Regions from separate parts of the Homo sapiens genome. Here regions 2 and 3 are each linked to region 1. The links are contacts of gene promoters, found by promoter capture Hi-C in human tissues and cell types (Jung and others, 2019). All regions are on one chromosome and are shown on one strand. Each heading gives the region's core, a stretch centred on a gene start or on the middle of the fragment in contact. The rest is flanking DNA. Distances are from core to core; before and after follow the strand shown.

Region 1 (3,250 bases), core at 309-2,808:
ATAGTCAATTTACAACCAAAAGTATGCCTGCCAGGAAACTCTGCCCCACCTGGAGAGTATCTCGAGACAAGGCCACTTTACAACCTAGTTCTGCCCAAGATGGTGGCAGCTCGACCAGGCGGTAGATAAGGCACCAAAGTGAGTCATGGAGACTCCCACCTGCTCATTCCCTCCTCTGCATGCCATTTATGCCAATTCCCCCTCCCGCTTTTTTTTTTTTTTTTTTTTTTTTTTTTGAGACAGAGTCTTGCTCTGTCGTTCAGGCTGGAGTGCAGTGGCACAATCTTGGCTGACTGCAACCTCTGCCTCCCGGGTTCAAGTGATCCTCCCACCTCAGCCTCCCGAGTAGCTGGGATTATAGGTGCCCACCACCTCACCCGGCTAATTTTTTTGTATTTTTAGTAGGGATGGGGTTTCACCACATTGGCCAGGCTGGACCAGACCTTGCTTCTGTTAATTGGATGCTACAAATGGAGAGCAAGTGTACCTGACATTTAGCTACACTGCTTTCTTAAAAAAAAAAAAAAAAAAAAGGCCCTGGCCAGGAGTGGTGGTTTATGCCTGTAATCCCGGCACTTTGGGAGGCTGAGGTGGGTGGATCACTTGAGGTCAGGAGCTTGAGACCAGCCTGGGCAACGTGGTGAAAGCCTGTCTTTACTAAAAATACAAAAATCAGCCGGGCATGGTGGCACACGCCTGTAATCCTAGCTACTTGGGCGGCTGAGGCAGGAGAATCACTTGAATTTGGGAGGCAGAGGTTGCAGTGAGCTGAGATTGGGCCACTGCACTCCATCCTGGGAACAAAGTGAGACAGTGTCTCAAAAAACAAAAAAGCCCTATCTTTGCAGGACAGGTGAGCCCCCAAATTGAGACTTAGCTTAGGAGAGTTCTTGGCTTTGCCCAAGGAAGGAATTCAAGGGTGAGCCAGTGGTGTTAGACAGCAATCTTTTATTGAATAGTGCTTCTCCTTGTGGGGCAGGGCTAACTCATGGGCAATGAATCCGGAGTCGATACCCAGTGTATGAGATGTTGGCAACTGTATTTATGCTCATCTCTAATCCCTTCTCAGCCTTTTGGCTGAGATCAAGTGTAGTATACGCATTCCTACCCACTTTCAATCACATGCAAATTAAGGGGCAGGCTAATGCAAATTAAGGGGCAGGTTAATGCAAATTAAGGAGTGGGTTTTTAGAGTTTTCTAGGAAAGAGGTAGCAACTTCCTGGTCATTGCCAAGACATTTGTACACTGTCATGGCACTGGTAGGAGTGTCTTATGTTAATGAGGGATGGGGACAGCTAGGGGGTCCTAGATCCTGTTTTGGTCAGCAGGGTTGTGCCATTCTCCTGTCTCACCAGGACTCTGGCAGCCATTTAGCTACTTTGAGCCCCAGTCTCCTATGTATGGAGTTGAGTAAAAGTTTGGGTGGTTGTGAGGATTAGCTGAGATAATGCCTGTGAGTATCCCATAAATGTTAGACTCCCACATTCCAATCCCTGTGTCCCCTGCCTCCAGAATCTTTCATTGTGACCTTAGGAGATTCTGAGAATGATTTTTCTCAGAGCAGGGCTTCCAGTAGCTGATGGTATGGTAGGAGGAGTGGAGTGGAGCTCTTGCCTTGTTACTGAGGAAATCTATTTGTTTCTAGTATTACTGGATTTTTGGGGAAAAATTTGTAGTCCTCCCCTTGAAAGGCAAAGGGGCTAGTTGTGCCATTTGCCTGCACAGGAACCATGAGGAGACATATGGTAACTTATGCCTGGCAGCTCCTGAAGAAGGAACTGGTGAGGAGGGGCAAGGGCCCTGGGAGGGAAGAGCAGAAGACTGAACAGACAGGTGTTTTGAGGAAGGTCGATGCAGGTGTAGGAGGGGTCTTGGATGAATGGTGGCCATCCTGTACCTTTTGGAGTCACAGCATGGCACAAAGGAGGGACCCCTGCCCTGTAGCCTACCAGCCCCCCACACTGGGCAAGCCATAAGCCACACTCAGAGCCACTGAGTCCTGTTCTGTACCCACTCTTCCTGCTATTATGAGATCCAGAGAGAACGAGGGAGGATAGAGTCAGGGTAGCAACATTGAGTCATAGGTTAAGCTTGTGAACTCTGGAGCCAGACTACCTAGGTTTAAATCCCTATCACCTATTAGTCATGTGACCCCAGGCAAGTTGCTTGGTTTGCTGTGCCTTTATTTTCTCCTCTGTAAAGTGAGATGATAATACTAGTACCTACTGCATAAATTTACTGATTAAATGATTTACATATCAGAATAGTGCTTTGGATAATGCCTGACAATAGTAAATTGTACTCAGTAAGTATTAATTTTATTCATAAAGTACCTTTCCCCATATTTCCATAGATATCTAATTTTTAAGAAATAGAACATTACAGGTGTAGGGAAAGCTCTTTACCATCCCATGCCCCTTTATTTCTCTTTAATAGTAACCACTTTCCTGAAGTTGGTGTCACCCTTCCTGTTTATATTTTTATATATTATCACATGTGTATGTATCCATAAACAATATATAGTATGTGGCACACTGTTTAAAAATGATACCATAAATAGCATCATAGTTCTTTTTTCCCACTCAAAATCATTTCAGCTTTATCCACATTGACACACACAGACTTAGTGCTGTGTTCAATCCTGTGACTGAACCATAATGTATTGATCCCTTCGATCCCTACTAATGAACATTTGTTTTCAGCCATTCACTGTTACACACAATGTTGCCATGATTACCCTCATGGCTATCCCCTTGTACATGTATGTTTCTCTGAAGAGGACATATAAAGTACATACAATTCTTCCATTGTGAAGTACACACATCCTCAACTTTATATAATGTTGCCAAATTGCTCTTCAACATGGTTGTACCATGTTTCCCAGTTCCCAGTGATAAGTGCAAAATAGTATCATGTTATTACTTTAATTTCCATTTCCATTATTTCTAGCAATGTTAAAAATGGTTTCACAATTTGGCTGGGGCATGAAGGCTCATGCCTGTAATCCCAGCACTTTGGGAGGCTGAGGTGGAAGGATCACTTGAAGCCAGAGTTGGAAACCAGCCTGGGCAACAAAGTGAAACCCCCTCTTTACAAACAATGTAAATATAAATACAAATGAATAAAAACAATATTTTCACAATTTATAGGTAATTTGAACTTTCCCTTTGAATTACCTTTGCTCATTTTGCTATTGGGTTATTTGTATTTTTCTTTTGATTTGTAGGATTACAAAAAATAAATTTTGGA
Region 2 (3,250 bases), core at 214-2,713, 240 kb before region 1:
GATCCCAGCAAACAAAGTATCCATCACTCAAAGGAATTAAGCTAATTCCTTTCCCCTTATTTAGTTCATCCTGGTAAAAAGATTTAACATAATCCCATTTTAAAAATGCTCAGAATCTTGATAAATGGGACAAAAGCAGAGAAGTTCCTAATGTTGTACAGCATTCGAAATTAAAATAGCATTGTGGTCCCATTTTCAGCTATTAAAAAGTTAATGAAATAAGCAGCTTGGAGGAAACCAGCATCACGGAGTTTAATTCTTTTTATTTTAAAGATAAAAGAGCCAGAATCGGAATTCATGTAATGCCAAAACATTTCATGAATCCATTAAGTCCTCTGAGCACTTTACATTTTCTTCTCATTCATTACTCATTAATAGCTTATCTGAAACTTATTATCTCCTTAAAAGGTTAGAAAACAAATGCTTAGCTTAGGGGATTAAGTATCTTGCCCAAGTGATTCGGGTCTGTTTGTCTTTGAATTCCATCCTTAACCATTCAAATCTTAGAAGTTAGAAGGGTTATTTTTAATATATCCCAGAGTTTACAGCACTGTGTTTATTAAGAGGAATTAACCTCATAAAGCATTAAAGATTGCTAGATGCAATCCTTAGAATTGTAGGTGGTTAATATAGTTATTTAATAACCATAATATATTTGTTTCCAACTTTAAATATCCACATCCAAATTTCTAGTGATCTAATCTTCAAAACACTTTTAGTTTGGAATACCTTTTATTATTATTAACAAACCTTAAATACAGATGAGCCCAAAAAAGGATCTTTATCAATGAGCATACACAACAAATTCACAACTGGCCTGACATTTCAGCTGAAAACAGCCACGGTGACAGACTTTTTATTTACTGTTAACTAATTATACATGTGTAACTTAGTATTCATCAGAACTTTACAATTTTAAGTAAATATGTATTTAGCAAATACTGTAACAGCCCAGACACTTGTTAAGCTTTCTTAGGTATTTGGGCACTACAATGTCATCTTTTTCAAGCACTCTAGTGCTTTCATCCAGTTTGCGTTGACTGGCATACAATTTAGAAACTCTGATAGTTTAACAGAAAATAGTCAGTATGCCTAGTAAAAGCAAATTTTTACTTATTTGTCTATGCACTGTATTTTCACTTTACTAGTATTCAATGCCAATATCCTTAATTCAATACTTTTTAACCAATCATTAAAAAAATAAAAATTCACAATTCAAATCACTCAAGTTAAACTGCCATCTGAATACCCAGAGAATAACCCTCAAACCAAAATCATAACTATAGTTACATACTAAGGACTTCTGTAGCGGCCTCTAAATCTTCGATCTCGACTTCTTGAGCGGCTCCGTCGCCTCTCTTTGCTTCTACTTCGCTTTCTTTCACGGCTTTTGCTCTTTTTCCTTTCTCTGTCTCTACTTCGCTTCCGTTCCTTACTTTTGCTTCTCTTTCGTTCATGACTACGACTTCTGCTCTTGCTTTTTTTCCTCCTGAGAAGAAAAAAACTCGCCATTATCATGCTGGCTTAAGAACCCACCAAAATATACTACCTTTTATGGCCAGAATCATTTTTTCATCCTTTCATAAATTTCTTTGGCTAGTTTTACTATGATACAATGGTACATAATCATACTTAAAAAAAAAAAAAAATCCTGTAATCTCAGCACTTTGGTAGGCCGAGGCAGGCAGATCACAAGGTCAGGAGTTCAAGACCAGTCTGGCCAATGTAGTGAAACCCCGTCCCTAATAAAAATACAAAAATTAGCCGGGCATAGTACCGTGCGCCTGTAGTCCCAGCTACTCGGGAGGCTAAGGCAGGAGAATTGCTCAAACCCGGGAAGCGGAGGTTGCAGTGAGCCAAGATCCCGCCACTGGTACTCCAGCCTGGGCGACAGAGTAAGACTCTGTCTAAAAAAATTGCTACGTATAGTAAACAATATCCCTTTTGCCTTATATTAACATTACTGAAAATCAGCAGACAAGACATTATTTGAAAGACACCATCCTCTAAGAGTAGAACTGCAATTATCTCCTGAGAGTTAGCTATAGCTTTAACAAGCAAAAGGGCTTGTTGGCAAATACAAATCAAAATGTGAACCTTTAAATAGTTTGTCATACAACAGGCCAACAAAAGCATTACTGTAATCCACAAAATAAATTAATAAAACAAACTTACAATAGAATATTTTCACATTCAAGTACTAGTACTGGTTCATTTATAAAAATTTTCATCAAATATAGTAATTTACCATTAAGTCAATTTTGCCCCCATTTACATATGGAAATATTTAACACGTTCAAAGGGTCACATAGACATCAACATTTTGGTTTTCATGGGCAAAACCGTAATGACAAAGGACAATAAGAACTAATGCAGGCCAGTGCAGTGGCTCACGCCTGTAATCCCAACCCTTTGGGAGGCCGAGGCAGGCAGATCACTTGAGGTCAGGAGTTTGAGACCAGCCCGGCCAACACGGTGAAATCCCCTCTCTACCAAAAATACAAAAATTAGCCAGGCCTGATGGTGCATGCCGGTAATCACAGCTACTTGGGAGGCTGAAGCAAGAGAATTGCTTGAACCCGGGAGGTGGAGGTTGCAGCAAGCTGAGACCATGCCATTGCACTCCAGCCTGGGCAAAAAGAGCAAAACACCATCTCAAAAAAAAAAAAAAAAACCCAACTCCAAGTGCGGTGGCTCACACCTGTAATCTCAGCACTTTGGGAGGCTGAGGAAGGCAGGTCACCTGAGGTCAGGAGTTCAAGACCAGCCTAGTCGACACGGTGAAAACCCATCTCTACTAAAAAATGCAAGAAGTAGTGGGTCGTGGTGGCACAGGCCTGTAGTTCCAGCTACTGTGGAGGCTGAGGCAGGAGAATCGCTTGAACCTGGGAGGCAGAGGTTGGAGTGAGCCGAAATCATGCCACTGTACTCCAGCCTGAGCAACAGAGCAAGACTGTCTCCAAAAAAAAAGAAAAAGAAAAAGAACTAACGCATTAAAATACAATTTGACATTCCTAGACTTTAATGTGACCATTTCAAATACTTCCTAAAGTTACAATGAATACACCAGAAAATGGAGTATGCCATTTTTAAGCCAGTTTATAGAAACCTGTGGGATGCAATCAAAACCAATGATCAACTTGACCTTCACAGACCTTTTTAAAATCTCTAACTAAAAACCAAAAAAGCCAAACATATCTTTCTGCTCACTTCCGTAGTCTTCACAGTATACCACCCATTCATAATTAAA
Region 3 (3,250 bases), core at 486-2,985, 130 kb after region 1:
CTGGCTGTAGATTTGAGCACTCACCGTGGGTCCAGGCCCATGCTGGGCTCTGCTCTAGTGGAGGCAGGAGGAGGCTCCTCAGGAGACACAGCCTAGCTTGGGTTCTGTGTCTTCCTGGATTAGGTTTGTACTGGAATGAGAAGAGGAAAAGTATTGAAAGAGGAATCCAAATATCTGCGTCCATGCCTTGTTATGTGACTGAGGGCCAATCACTTTCCCCTTTTGGCACGTGTCCATCTCTGTAAAATGAAGGTATTGGGATGGGTGGCACACTTAGTAGTGGTTACTAGCACTGGCTCTACAGTCATTCGGGGCTTGCCATGTACTAGCTGGGGGGACTAGGGCAAGTGATTCCATTTCCTCATTTCCTTACTTGTAAAACAGGACCAGTACTAGTATCTGTTTCACAGGATTGTTTTGATAATTAAATGAGATAACATCCTTGGAATGCTTAGCATAATGTGAGTGCATAAGAAACATTTGATAAATGTCAACTATTATGACCATTATTGCTACTCCACAATTCAGCTCAACATTCTTGAAGGCCTTTGTATTGGGCCCTAGGCCTACAAAAACAGAAATGAATCCAGCAGTATTCACAGGTTGGGGGTGGGAGCAGACATGTAAAGATGCAATACCACCGCAAGGACAATGTACAAGCTGCCAGGGTGTGGCTGTTTATGGAGGAAAAGGCTTCCTGGAGGACAGAGATGGTGTTTGGGCTGGATTTTACCGTCTGGGTATTTGAAATAGCATGTGCAAAGGCAGAACGGCTTCTTAGGGGAACCCCAAATAGTTCCACATGGTTGGAATAGGAGGTGGTGAGTGGCAGGGATGAGGGTGGAGGAGTGAATGACTGGAGATAAAGCTGAGAGGAAGATTAGGGACAGATCTGGTGCAGGCCAAAGAGCCTGAGCAAGTCCTGCAGACGGCAGGGAGCTGGGGAAGAGGAGTAAGCCAACCAGGAAGGATCAGATTTGCATTTCAAAAACACAGCTCTCCAGGTGGTGACAGAGGATGGTTGGTCTGGGAGGAAGGGAAGGACTGTTGACCTGGAGACCTGGGCACAGAGGCTGCTAAACAAGCTCAATGGGAGGCCCCACTGGGGTGGATAGATACCTAGAACAGGCTGTTCTAGGAAGCTTTTTCCTCTGTAAGCCTGTCTTCAGCCTGGTTTCACGACAGCCTGGCCCTGGAAGGTGCAGGAGAGGTGAGAGTGACTTCTCATGAGGAGCCTCTGGGTCCTCTTTAACCTCTAAAGCTGCCTAATGAGTGGGAATCTGAAAAACAGAGTTTGAGGGTCCTAGGTCTGCTACTCAAAGGATGCACAGTGTATTAACTTCCTAGGGGTGCTGTCATGAAGCACGCAAACCAGGTAGCTTTGAACCACAGACATTTACTCCCCCACTTGTGGAGGCTAGAAGTCTGAAATCCAGGTGTCAGCAAGGTTGGCTCCTTCTGGAGGCTCTGGGGCAATCTGTTTCCTGCCTTTCTCCTAGCTTCTGGTGGTTGCCAGCAATCTTTGGCATTTCTTGGCTTGCAGCTGCATCTGCCTCTGTCGTCACGTGGCTTTCTCTCTGTTTCATTTCCTCTTCTAAGGACACCAGTCATATGGGATTTAGAACCCACCCTAGTCCAGTATGACCTCATTTGAACTTGAGTAATTGCATCTGCAAAGACCCTGTTTCCAAATATGGTCACATTATGAAGTTTTAGGTAGACATAAATTTGGGTTGGGAGGGGACACTGTTCAACCCAATACATGCAGGAAGTTGGGGAGGAGTGCATGCCTTTTAGTTCCACAGGGCTACATCCAAATTTAGGCTTTGCAGTGGAGCCTCTATGAAATGGAGACAGTAGGCCAGGCATGGTTGCTCACGCCTGTAATCCCAGCACTTTGGGAGGCCGAGGTGGGCAGATCATCTGATCAGATTTGTATTTCAAATTTGAGTGATCTGAGGCGGATTATTCCTGAGGTCAGGAGTTTGAGACCAGCCTGGCCAACATGGTGAAACGCTGTCTCTACTAAAAATACAAAAATTAGCCAGGCGTGGTGGCGGGCACCTGTAATCCCAGCTACTCGGGAGGCTGAGACAGGAGAATTGCTTGAACCTGGGAGGCGGACATTGCAGTGAGCTGAGATTGTGCCACTGCACTCTAGCCTGGGTGACAGAGCAAGACTCCGTCTCGAAAAAACAAAACAAAACAAAACAAAGAAATGGGACAGTAGCACCTACAGTAGTGTCATGGTCATGAGACTTGATCAAAATAACAGATATGAGCATGCCTAATGAGGTAGTACACAGTAGGCACTCAATACCTACTTCCTTTCCAGCTCTCCCTTCTCTGCACTTAGGAGCTTGGACAAGTCACCTAATCTTGCTTTACTTTCCTCATCTATCAAATGTGAATAATCATCATCCAGCCCTGCCTACTTCACCAAATTGCGATCCCAGGAGATAATGAGAAAGCTCTTTGTAAATTGCTTAAGGGCTTGTAGCTGTGATTTTTAATTATAATAATAATCATCATAATAACCCTTGGCCATTGTCATATCCGCTGCATTCTCCTCAGAGCCCAGCCCAGCCCAGCCCGCTCCTCTCCTGAGACAGGTCCTCTTTGCCTGTTTGTGCTCAGAGGCATCCCATGAAGTGTCGCCTCTGTCTGAGTTGGGAGGACCTTAGAGATGGTCCTTGCCGTTGCCCTTATTAGCCTGAGGAGGGAAACATGCTCAGGGAGAAAAAGTGACACCCGCAAAGTCACACAGCTGGTCAGTGGTAATTGGAACACCTTATCTGTGGCTCCTGTCTTCAGTCTGAACAGTGCTTTTTCCCTAGTTGCAACTTTAGGCCCAGAAGCAGGAGCTCAGGGCAGATAGAGGCCTGGAGTGGGCTCTGCATATGTTCCAGAGGTGAGGATGCAACAGGAGAGTGTCCTGCTGTCAGGATTAGAACCCCAAGAAAGGGGTCCCTGGGCTCTGAGTGAGCAGGCTGAATGGGCCGGTTGTTCTGTTATCACTCTGGCTATGGCCATCTCTGCCTACTCTGGTGGGAGGGCCACCATGCGGGGCTCTGGAGTCTAGATGTAACCCAAGGCTTCAGTGTCCCTGTTGACAGCCAGGGTGGCATTTCTCAGCAGGTCCTGTCCCTCTAAGCCTTGCCTTGGTGGGTCTAGGGAAAGCTCTGGGAAAGAGAGAGGGCTTATACTGTCCTGGTAGTTTCTGGCAAGTCATCTTCCTTTCCCCCCACAC

What was found. The method cuts DNA at HindIII sites, captures the fragments that hold promoters and counts their contacts. A contact is called where the count stands out against the background at its distance.
Region 2: a contact is called between a fragment that was not itself captured here and the fragment with the promoter of CNBD2 in region 1, in 1 of the 25 tissues and cell types used here (IMR-90 fibroblasts).
Region 3: a contact is called between a fragment that was not itself captured here and the fragment with the promoter of CNBD2 in region 1, in 7 of the 25 tissues and cell types used here (H1 embryonic stem cells, IMR-90 fibroblasts, aorta and 4 more).

Annotation. Positions count from the first base shown.
Region 1 is chr20:35,967,032-35,970,281 of GRCh38, forward strand. CNBD2 (cyclic nucleotide binding domain containing 2) reads left to right here and starts at 1,559. Exons shown (of 12, transcript NM_001365709.1): 1 at 1,559-1,782. The coding sequence starts at 1,732. It also overlaps the pseudogene LOC124904982. The HindIII fragment of the contact is 12,223 bases long and covers 1-3,250 here.
Region 2 is chr20:35,730,647-35,733,896 of GRCh38, forward strand. It overlaps RBM39 (RNA binding motif protein 39), which reads right to left. Exons shown (of 17, transcript NM_184234.3): 4 at 1,295-1,489. Among named protein-coding and RNA genes, the nearest start is that of RBM39, 10 kb to the right of the region's middle. The HindIII fragment of the contact is 3,333 bases long and covers 1-3,130 here.
Region 3 is chr20:36,096,980-36,100,229 of GRCh38, forward strand. It overlaps a transcript of EPB41L1 not described here. Among named protein-coding and RNA genes, the nearest start is that of NORAD, 48 kb to the left of the region's middle. RefSeq lists an enhancer at 749-1,257. The HindIII fragment of the contact is 5,126 bases long and covers 1-3,250 here.